2 separate regions of the Homo sapiens genome follow, and region 2 is linked to region 1. The links are contacts of gene promoters, found by promoter capture Hi-C in blood cells and fetal thymus (Javierre and others, 2016). All regions are on one chromosome and are shown on one strand. The core of a region is centred on a gene start or on the middle of the fragment in contact, and the rest is flanking DNA. Distances in the headings are between cores, read along the strand shown. Region 1 holds the start of ATP4A (ATPase H+/K+ transporting subunit alpha). Region 2 holds the start of UPK1A (uroplakin 1A).

Region 1 (4,204 bases), core at 1,634-4,133:
AATGTCCTTATTCATAGAAGACACATGCCTAAGTATGGATAAAGGGGATCCTGTCTCCAACTTGCTTCCAAATGATTCAGCCAAAAATTTAAAAAATTCTGGCCAGGCATGGTGGCTCACACCTGTAATCCCAGCACTTTGGGAGGCCAAGGCGGGTGGATCACTTGAGACCAGGAGTTCTAGACCATCCTGGCCAACATGGTGAAACCCCGTCTCTACTAAAAATACAGAAATTAGCTGGGCATGGTGGCGGGTGCCTGTAATCCCAGCTGCTTGGGAGGCTGAGGCACAAGAATTGCTTGAATCCAGGAGACAGAGGTTGCAGTGAGCCGAGATCATGACACTGCACTACAGCCTGGGCGACAGAGAAAGACTCTGTCTCAAAAAGAAAAAAAAAAAAAATCTATCAATCATCTATCATTTATGTATCCATCTATCTGTCTAACATCTCTTATCTATCTATTTTTCTATTTTTTTTTTTTTTTTTTTTTGAGACAGAGTCTCACTCTGTCACCCAGGCTGGAGTGCAGTGGCATGATCTCGGCTCACTGCAACTTTCACCTCCCAGGTTCAAGTGATTCTCCTGCCTCGGCCTCCCTGGTAGCTGGGATTACAGGCACACACCACCACATCCAGCTAATTTTTGTATTTTTAGTAGAGACAGGGTTTCACCATGTTGACCAGGCTGGTCTCGAACTCCTGACCTCATGATCCGTCCACCTCAGCCTTCCAGAGTGCTGGGATTACAGATGTGAGTCACAGTGTCCGGCCCAGTCCTCCTTCTAATGAACACCAAACAAATAAAAAGAAAACACAGTGTCAGGTTGGAGTAGGAGGTGTAAATACAGTGGGGTAAAGGAACAGAACACAGTGTGCAGTATTACAGAATGGACTCTCTGAAGAGGTGACATTTGAGCTGAGACCTGAAAGAGGTGAGAAAGCCAGTGCAGACATCTAAGGAAGGGGGCCCAGGCAGAAGGAACTGTAAGTACCAAGGTCCTGAAGCAGGAACGACCTTGGTCTGTGCAAAGTGCAGCAGAGAGGTCAGTGCCCCTGGAAACCTAGCAGCAACAGAGGCAGGACAGGTGACCAGGGCCAGATGTTGCAGGAAGGAGTGCAGAGTTTATTCTGAGTGGGAAGGGAAGGCTTTGGAGGGTTGTAAGCAGGGGGTGACACAAGCTGTTTGACATACATGGCTCAGAGCTGATGGGAGCCCAGTGAGCGAGTAGATTCACTACAAGGACAGCATGTGGCCCCACGCCACCTCTTCTTTGGAGGTTTCTTCTAGCAGGCTGGGGATGACCAGCCGTGTGGGTGCGGGGAGGAGCTCTGGCTGCCCAACAGCTTTGAGTTTCCCAGGTGACCTGCCCCAGTAGAGAAGGACATTGCCAGGGCAGTTATCTTATCAGGCGCACGCTCACCTGCTCCTGGAGACACGCTCACCCCATAACATACCAAGGTCCCCACCATTCCACTGGCCCAGCCCCTCGCTGCTGCTGCCCATGGAGGTCCCTACCTGAGGGATGAGGAGGGAGTCCCCAGGCCTCCTGGCATCTGTCACCCAACACCAAGATCAAGCCAAGACCCTTGGACACATCCTTTCCCCATGTTGCACCTTGGTTTCCCCATCTAGGGTAGGGACGGGGAATGGTTGAGAGCTGTAAAGTCTGTAGCTGGATATGTGAGTCCCTGTGAGCCTCAGTTTCCCCCTCTGCACAACAGGAATGATAGTTCTGCCTGCACAGGGTTTTTTGCAAAGACCCGTGAGGTCACACGTGCAGAGCCTGGCATGTGTGTGGTGCTGCTGCAGTGAAGTTTGGGTTTTTCCATTGGTGGTGCCATAGAAGAGCTAGGCTCTGGGGTCAAGCCCTGGGGTCAAGCCCGGGCTGGAACCCTGTCCCTAATTCTTAGACGTTGAAATCTTCTGCAAAGTCCCTGATGGGGGCTAAGAAGAGAATATTGCTTTACAGGGCTGCTGTTAGATGCTAAGGAAACCATTTGAGTGACACACAGAGCACACCCAGCCCATAGTGAATAGTCAGAGTTCAGTAAACATTCAGCCACCATAGAGAGTGTTGTAAGCATGGCAGGGCATGGTGGCTCACGCCTGTAATCCCAGCACTTTGGGAGGCCAAGGCGGGTGGATCACCTGAGGTCAGGAGTTCGAGACCAGCCTGGCCAACCTGGTGAAACCCCGTCTCTACTAAAAGTACAAAAATTAGCTGGGTGTGGTGGCATGTGCCTGTAGTCCCAGCTACTCAAGAGGCTGAGGCAGGAGAATCACTTGAACCCGGGAGGCGGAGGTTGCAGCGAGCTGAGATTGCACCACTGCACTCCAACCTGGGTGTCAGAGTGACACTCCATCTCAAAAAAAAAAAGAAAAAAAAAAAGAGTGTGGGAGCACCCTCCTCTTCCAGTTGATCAGGCACGTGCTATTTAGACTGAAAGAGGACACTCTGCAGCCAGCTGATCTGGTTCTCACTCCATTATGTCCTAGCCTGTGATGGAGCCATAGGAGAATGACTCAACCCCTCCATGCCTCAGTTTCCCCATCTGTAAAGGGTCTTGTCCCCTCAAAGGGTTATTGGAAGGTTAAATAAGTTAGCACATGGAAGCCGTCAGCACAATGCCCAGCGCATAATGAGCACCTTATGTTTGCTCTTCTTGTTGCTGCAGCGGTTCCCAGGGGCTCCCTGATCTCAGGGCAGGTTGACATGGGGGGATCTGGGCAGGGGAGGGGGGGGCCAGCCCAGGAGGGAATGCCTGAGGTGCCCAGGCCTAGAGGTCACCCCAAGGAGCCTGTAATCAGCTGTGGTCGGGCGGTTCTGCTCCACCCCACCGCCCTCCCTGGGTATATCAGGACTGGTCCGGGCCCAGGCTCTGTTGGGTGGGAGCACAGGCACCGGGCACCATGGGGAAGGCCGTGAGTGGGGCCCAGGGGTCCGGGGTGCAGTGGGGACAGGGGTTGCAGTGGAATCTGAGTTCTCCCTCCCTCCATCCTGTCCATTCCCAGGAGAACTATGAGCTCTACTCGGTGGAGCTGGGTCCTGGCCCTGGCGGGGACATGGCTGCCAAGATGAGCAAGAAGAAGAAGGCGGGTGGCGGGGGTGGCAAGAGGAAGGAGAAGCTGGAGAACATGAAGAAGGAGATGGAGATTGTGAGCTCTGACTGGGGAGGGGCGGGAGCTGGAGGGTAGGCTGGGAACCAGGCAGTGGGCGGGGAGGGGGCCAGGAGAGCCCAGAGCAAGCACCCTGCCCCACCCCACCACACAGAACGACCACCAGCTGTCAGTGGCGGAGCTGGAACAGAAATACCAGACCAGTGCCACCAAGGTGAGCTGGAGACTGGGAGCGTACAGAAAGGGGAGGAGGAGAGAGGGAGGGAGAGGGAGATGGAAGGAGGGAGATGGAGAGAGGGAGAGAGAGGGAGAGATGAAGAGAGGAAGATATGGAGAAATAGAGAGAGGGAGGGAGGCAGAAAAGGAAAGAGGGAGGGAGGGAGAGAGGAAAGGATGGAGGGAGGGGAGGAGAGAGGGAGGGAGATGGAGAGAGGGAGAGAGAGGGAGAGGGAGAGAAGGGAGAAAGCATTAGAGAGAAAGGGTGACACACAGAGACGGAGAGAGGAGTAGCTGAAAAGAGACAGCAAGACAGAGAAGGCAGAGACAAATAAGGAGAGAGCAGCAGGAGAGAGACACATAGAAAGGGGAGCGAGGAGAGAGAGACAAAGGGAGAGATGAAGGAGGGAGGGAGAGATGGGGTGGGGGCAGGAACCAAGAGACAAAGAGATGAGAAGGAGCAGGACAGACCAAGCTGGAGAAGGGAAACTGAAGCAGGGGGCTTTCCACGGGGTGTGCATGTGGAGGAAAGCCCCCAGGACCGCCTCGCCCTGCCCCTCTGTCCCAGGGCCTCTCTGCGAGCCTGGCTGCTGAGCTGCTGCTGCGGGATGGGCCCAACGCACTGCGGCCACCACGGGGCACCCCAGAGTACGTCAAGTTCGCGAGGCAGCTGGCCGGGGGCCTGCAGTGCCTCATGTGGGTTGCCGCCGCCATCTGCCTCATCGCCTTTGCCATCCAGGCTAGTGAGGGGGACCTCACCACCGACGACAATGTGAGCCATGTTGTGGGGACAGGCTCAGGACATGGGGACCTGGGGATGGAAGACACTGAGCCTGGGACTTGGGACAAGAGGGGCAGAGAAGGATGGGG
Region 2 (4,224 bases), core at 103-2,602, 100 kb before region 1:
GCAGTGAGCAAGCATCACACCACTGCACTGCAGCCTGGTCAACAGAGTGAGACCCTGTCTCTAAAACAAACACACGGCCAGTCGCGGTGGCTTACACCTGTAATCCCAACACTTTGGGAGGCTGAGGTGGGCAGATCACCTCAGGTCAGGAGTTCAAGACCAGCCTGGCCAACATGGTGAAACCCCATCTCTTCTAAAAATACAAAAAGTAGCCGGGTGTGGTAGCATGTGCCTGTAATCCCAGCTGCTCGGGAAGCTGAGGCAGGAGAATTGCTGGAGCCCAGGAGGTGGAGGATGCAGTGAGCCGAGATCTCGCCACTGCACTTCAGCCTGGGTGACAAAGGGAGAATCTGTCTGAAAAAAAAAAAATTAGCCGGGCGTGGTGGTGTGCGCCTGTAATCCCAGCTATTCTGGAGGCTGAGGCAGGAGAATCACTTGAGCCCGGGAGTTAGAGGTTGCAGTTAGCTGAGATCAGCCACTGCACTCCAGCCTGGGCAACAGAGTGAGACTCCGTCTCAAAAACAAAACAAAACAAAACAAAACAAAACAAAACAAAACAAAAAACACAAAACCAAAACCCAATGTTAATTGAAAGACACTGTTGTTTTTCCTTCTTGTGGCCTCCTGTGCACCAGGCTGTCACTTTATATCCATAGTGATGCTGATGGTGATAGCCAGCATTGGTCGGGCACTTTCTCTGAGCTGAGGGCCACACATGGATTAATCCACATGACAACAGCCCACACAATGAGGACACAGTCTATAGATGAGGAAAGAAGGCACAGAGAGGGACAGTCGCTTGCTAAGGTCACAGAGCTGGGGAGAGGCAGAGCTGGGATTTCAACCCAGGCTGTGCTGACCACTGAGTCTGCCCGAGAGACAGTTCTGGACCCTCATCCCCCACCCCGAGCTCAGGACTGTCCCCTCCCCACCACACAACCACTCGGCTCCCAGCACTGGGGCGAGTCTCACCAGAATAATGATATTGCCCACAACTAGCAGGCCCACCACAACTGGAGATCCCTTCTCGGCCTCCGCTGCTGCCGCAGACGCCATCATCCTGGGACACATGAGCAGGGATGAGGCCAGGAGCGTAAAGGGCCAGCCGGACCCCCCATCTCTGAGCCACACCCTGGCTTCGAGGGGTTGCTCCAGCTCTCTGCGGGGCCCAGGCTGGTACTGATGTACCCACAGCCCTGGTGGGGAGGCATTTTGCACAAGAGGACACCCGGGCTCCGGTGGGGCAGTCACTGGCCTGAACTTGGCACTGCCCCTCCCTGAGCCTCAGACCCCTCATGCCATACCCAGACTCCCAGGGCCCCCTCCTCACCTTCTCTGTCTGCAGCCTCTCTGGCCAGCCCCACCCACCGTGGCTCCCTATATACGCCCAGGCCCCTCCTTGGGCTAGTCTCCCAGGAAGGAGGGAGGGTGTGTGTGTGTGTGTGTGTGTTTTGGGGCACGGCAGTGGGGTGGACAAGAGGCTGAGCCGGCAGACCAGGCTGGATGAACAGCTTTGATGGGCTCCCTGCCACCCCCATGATTTATAGACCTGAAATACCAGATTGTGTAGGACCCATGGCCTCTGGGTCCCAGGCTTTGTTGGCGGTGGAGGAGTTGGAGGTGGAGGGGCGTGCGCACCACCTGGTGTCTCTCTTGCTAGGACATGGGCCTTCCTGGGAATAGGAGCAAGATCCAAATCAGGGCGGGGCGTGGTAGCTCAGGCCTGTAATCCCAGCACTTTGGGAAACTGAGGTAGGCGGATCGCTTGAGCTCAGTAGTTTGAGACCAGACTGGGTGACATAGTGAAACCCCGTTTCTATAAAAAATACAAAAATAATTAGCCAGGCTCATGCCTGTGGTCCCAGCTACTTGGGAGGCTGAGGTGGGAGGATGGCTGAACCTGGGGACAGAGGTTGCAGTGAGCCAAGATCGTGCCATTGCACTCCAGCTTGAGTGACAGAGCCAGGCCCTGTCTCCAAAACCAAACAAACAAAAAATCCACTTCGGACCCACAGGTGGGTCCTGAATCCCAGAAGTGTCTCTCCTGCTGTGTGACCTTGCACAGGTGGCTGCTCCTCTGTGAGGCCGGGAGCCCGTGGGGAGGCCCAGGCAGGGACCCCTGCCAAGGCCAGGGCTGGACCGAGGCAGAGCAGTGGGGAGATGAGGGGACAGGTGGAAGGGGCGCTTAGGAGGCTGACTACATGGGCGGTGGGCTGAGGGAAAGGATGGCACCCAGGATAGGTGTGTGAGGGGAGTCTGAGATAAGTGCAAAGATGGGGGAGAAGAACGTGCTAGAAAATGAGAGGGGGCACACCGGGCTTGGTTGAAGAAAAGTCCCCGTCGCCCCCCAACACACGCATGGACCAGACATTTATTTCTTCAGGTGCAGAATGAGAAACCTAGGTTCAAATCCCGGTTCTGCCTCTTCTGGGCGGCACGACTTGGCTTGTGGATTTGCCCATCTGCGAAATGGGTATCATCAGACCGCTTCCCTGGCGGAGGTGGGGACTGAGCCAGCGCGTGTCCCCAGGGGCCGCCGATGCTGCCCACGAGGCCACGGTCTCTCCGATGCCACGCCCTCGCAGCGCAGGGCTGGCTCCATGCAAAAATGGTGGCCCAGGGCCCCCGACACCGTCCCCAGAACTTCTCAACCCCAAGGCTAGGCCGTGTATTGCCTCTGCTGTGGGAGCAGTGGCTCCCCACTGCGGTGCCTGCGAATTTGGCAAATGACACTGAAAATCCCATCGTCAAGGCACTGGTTTGGTAATAAGATACATGAGATGTTTTCCGATTAAAATGGTTAATTTGGTTTTAGTCAACCCACTTTAGATTTTAAAATAGTTTTTTTGGCCAGTCGTGGTGGCTCACGCCTGTAATCCCAGCACTTTGGGAGGCCAGGGTGGGGGGATCACCTGAGGTCAGGCTGACTAACATGGTGAAACCCTATCTCTACTAAAAATACAAAATTAGCCAGTCGTGGTGGCAAGTGCCTGTAATCCCAGCTACTCAGGAGGCTGAGGCAGGAGCTAATCGCTTGAACCTCGAAGGCAGAGGTTGCAGTGAGCTGAGGTCGTGCCATTGCTCTCCAGCCTGGGTGACAGAGTGAGACTCTGTCTCCACAACAACAACAAAAATCTGTAAAGTGTTTATTCAAGAAAAGCAGCTGAATCTTAGTAAGAGCAGTGAACTTTATGACTTTTTTAAAATTTATTTTTATTTTTGTTTTCTTGAGACAGAGTCTCACTGTCGCCCAGGCTGGAATGCAGTGGCACGATCTCAGTTCACTGCAACCTCTGCCTCCCAGGTTCAAGCAATTCTCCTGCCTCAGCCTCCCGAGTAGCTAGGATTACAGGCGCCCGCCACCACGCCCGGCTAATTTTTATACTTTGTGACATTTTTAATTGGCCTAGTTCCATTCCCCCATTCCAGCTCCATGGTAGCCTTGAATATTAACTGCCAGCATTCTCAGTGGAAACTAGCAGCCTGGCATACACCAAACGGGGCAGAAGAGGATGAAACTCCATAAAAGCCTCACTCCCAGAAAGTCAGAATTATTTGATTCGTCTTATGGTTCCCTGGAAGCCCCTACTTGCAATGTTGTCTGTATTTGACCTAACTTAGAGCTCATACATCGTCAAAATTATTTCCCCAGGGGCATTTGTGAAACACAATTGCATGCAATTGTTTAACTAGGCAGCTGCCTAAGCAATGAATAACAGTTGAGGCCAATAATAGGCTAATGAAACAGTTTAAAAGATAAAGCTGGGGAATGAGAAGGCTTTGAAAAACTCCAAAATATTCTTGGAAATCTAGAAGGTCACATGCATGCATAGGGTTGTGTGCATGCCCAGGAGTATATGCAGGCTCAAGAAAGACCAGAGATGAGAACCCAGTCTTCTTACATTGGGCTGACCTTGAGGATGTGTGCCTTCCTGGGAGAAGTAGTGGCGAAGGCAGAGTTGTCAATTGCCTGGCTGAATGTCGAAAGCATGGCCCACCATGCCTCAGCAAAGGCTAGGAGATTATTGGTTTTTGGAGGCTAAGGAAATCTTTGTCCAATCATTAGCGGAACTAATGCTAAAGAATACTGTCTTTTTTTTTGAGATGGAGTGTTGGCCAGGCTAGTCTTGAACTCCTGACCTCAAGTGAACCTCCCACTTTGGCCTCCCAAAGTGCTGGGATTACAGGTGTGAGCCACCATGCCTGGCCTAAAAGCAGAAATTA

Evidence for each region. Contacts are between HindIII fragments. The CHiCAGO score rates a contact against its expected background, and 5 or more counts as called.
Region 2: a contact is called between the fragment with the promoter of UPK1A here and the fragment with the promoter of ATP4A in region 1, in 3 of 17 cell types (erythroblasts, megakaryocytes and M1 macrophages). The highest score is 6.0, in erythroblasts.

The regions. Positions count from the first base shown.
Region 1 is chr19:35,562,337-35,566,540 of GRCh38, reverse strand. It overlaps ATP4A (ATPase H+/K+ transporting subunit alpha), which reads left to right and starts at 2,883. Exons shown (of 22, transcript NM_000704.3): 1 at 2,883-2,923; 2 at 3,014-3,157; 3 at 3,273-3,332; 4 at 3,903-4,106. The coding sequence starts at 2,912. RefSeq lists an enhancer at 1,227-1,728. The HindIII fragment of the contact is 9,853 bases long and covers 1-4,204 here.
Region 2 is chr19:35,663,645-35,667,868 of GRCh38, reverse strand. UPK1A (uroplakin 1A) reads right to left here and starts at 1,352. Exons shown (of 8, transcript NM_007000.4): 1 at 1,331-1,352; 2 at 973-1,060. The coding sequence starts at 1,056. The HindIII fragment of the contact is 14,723 bases long and covers 1-4,224 here.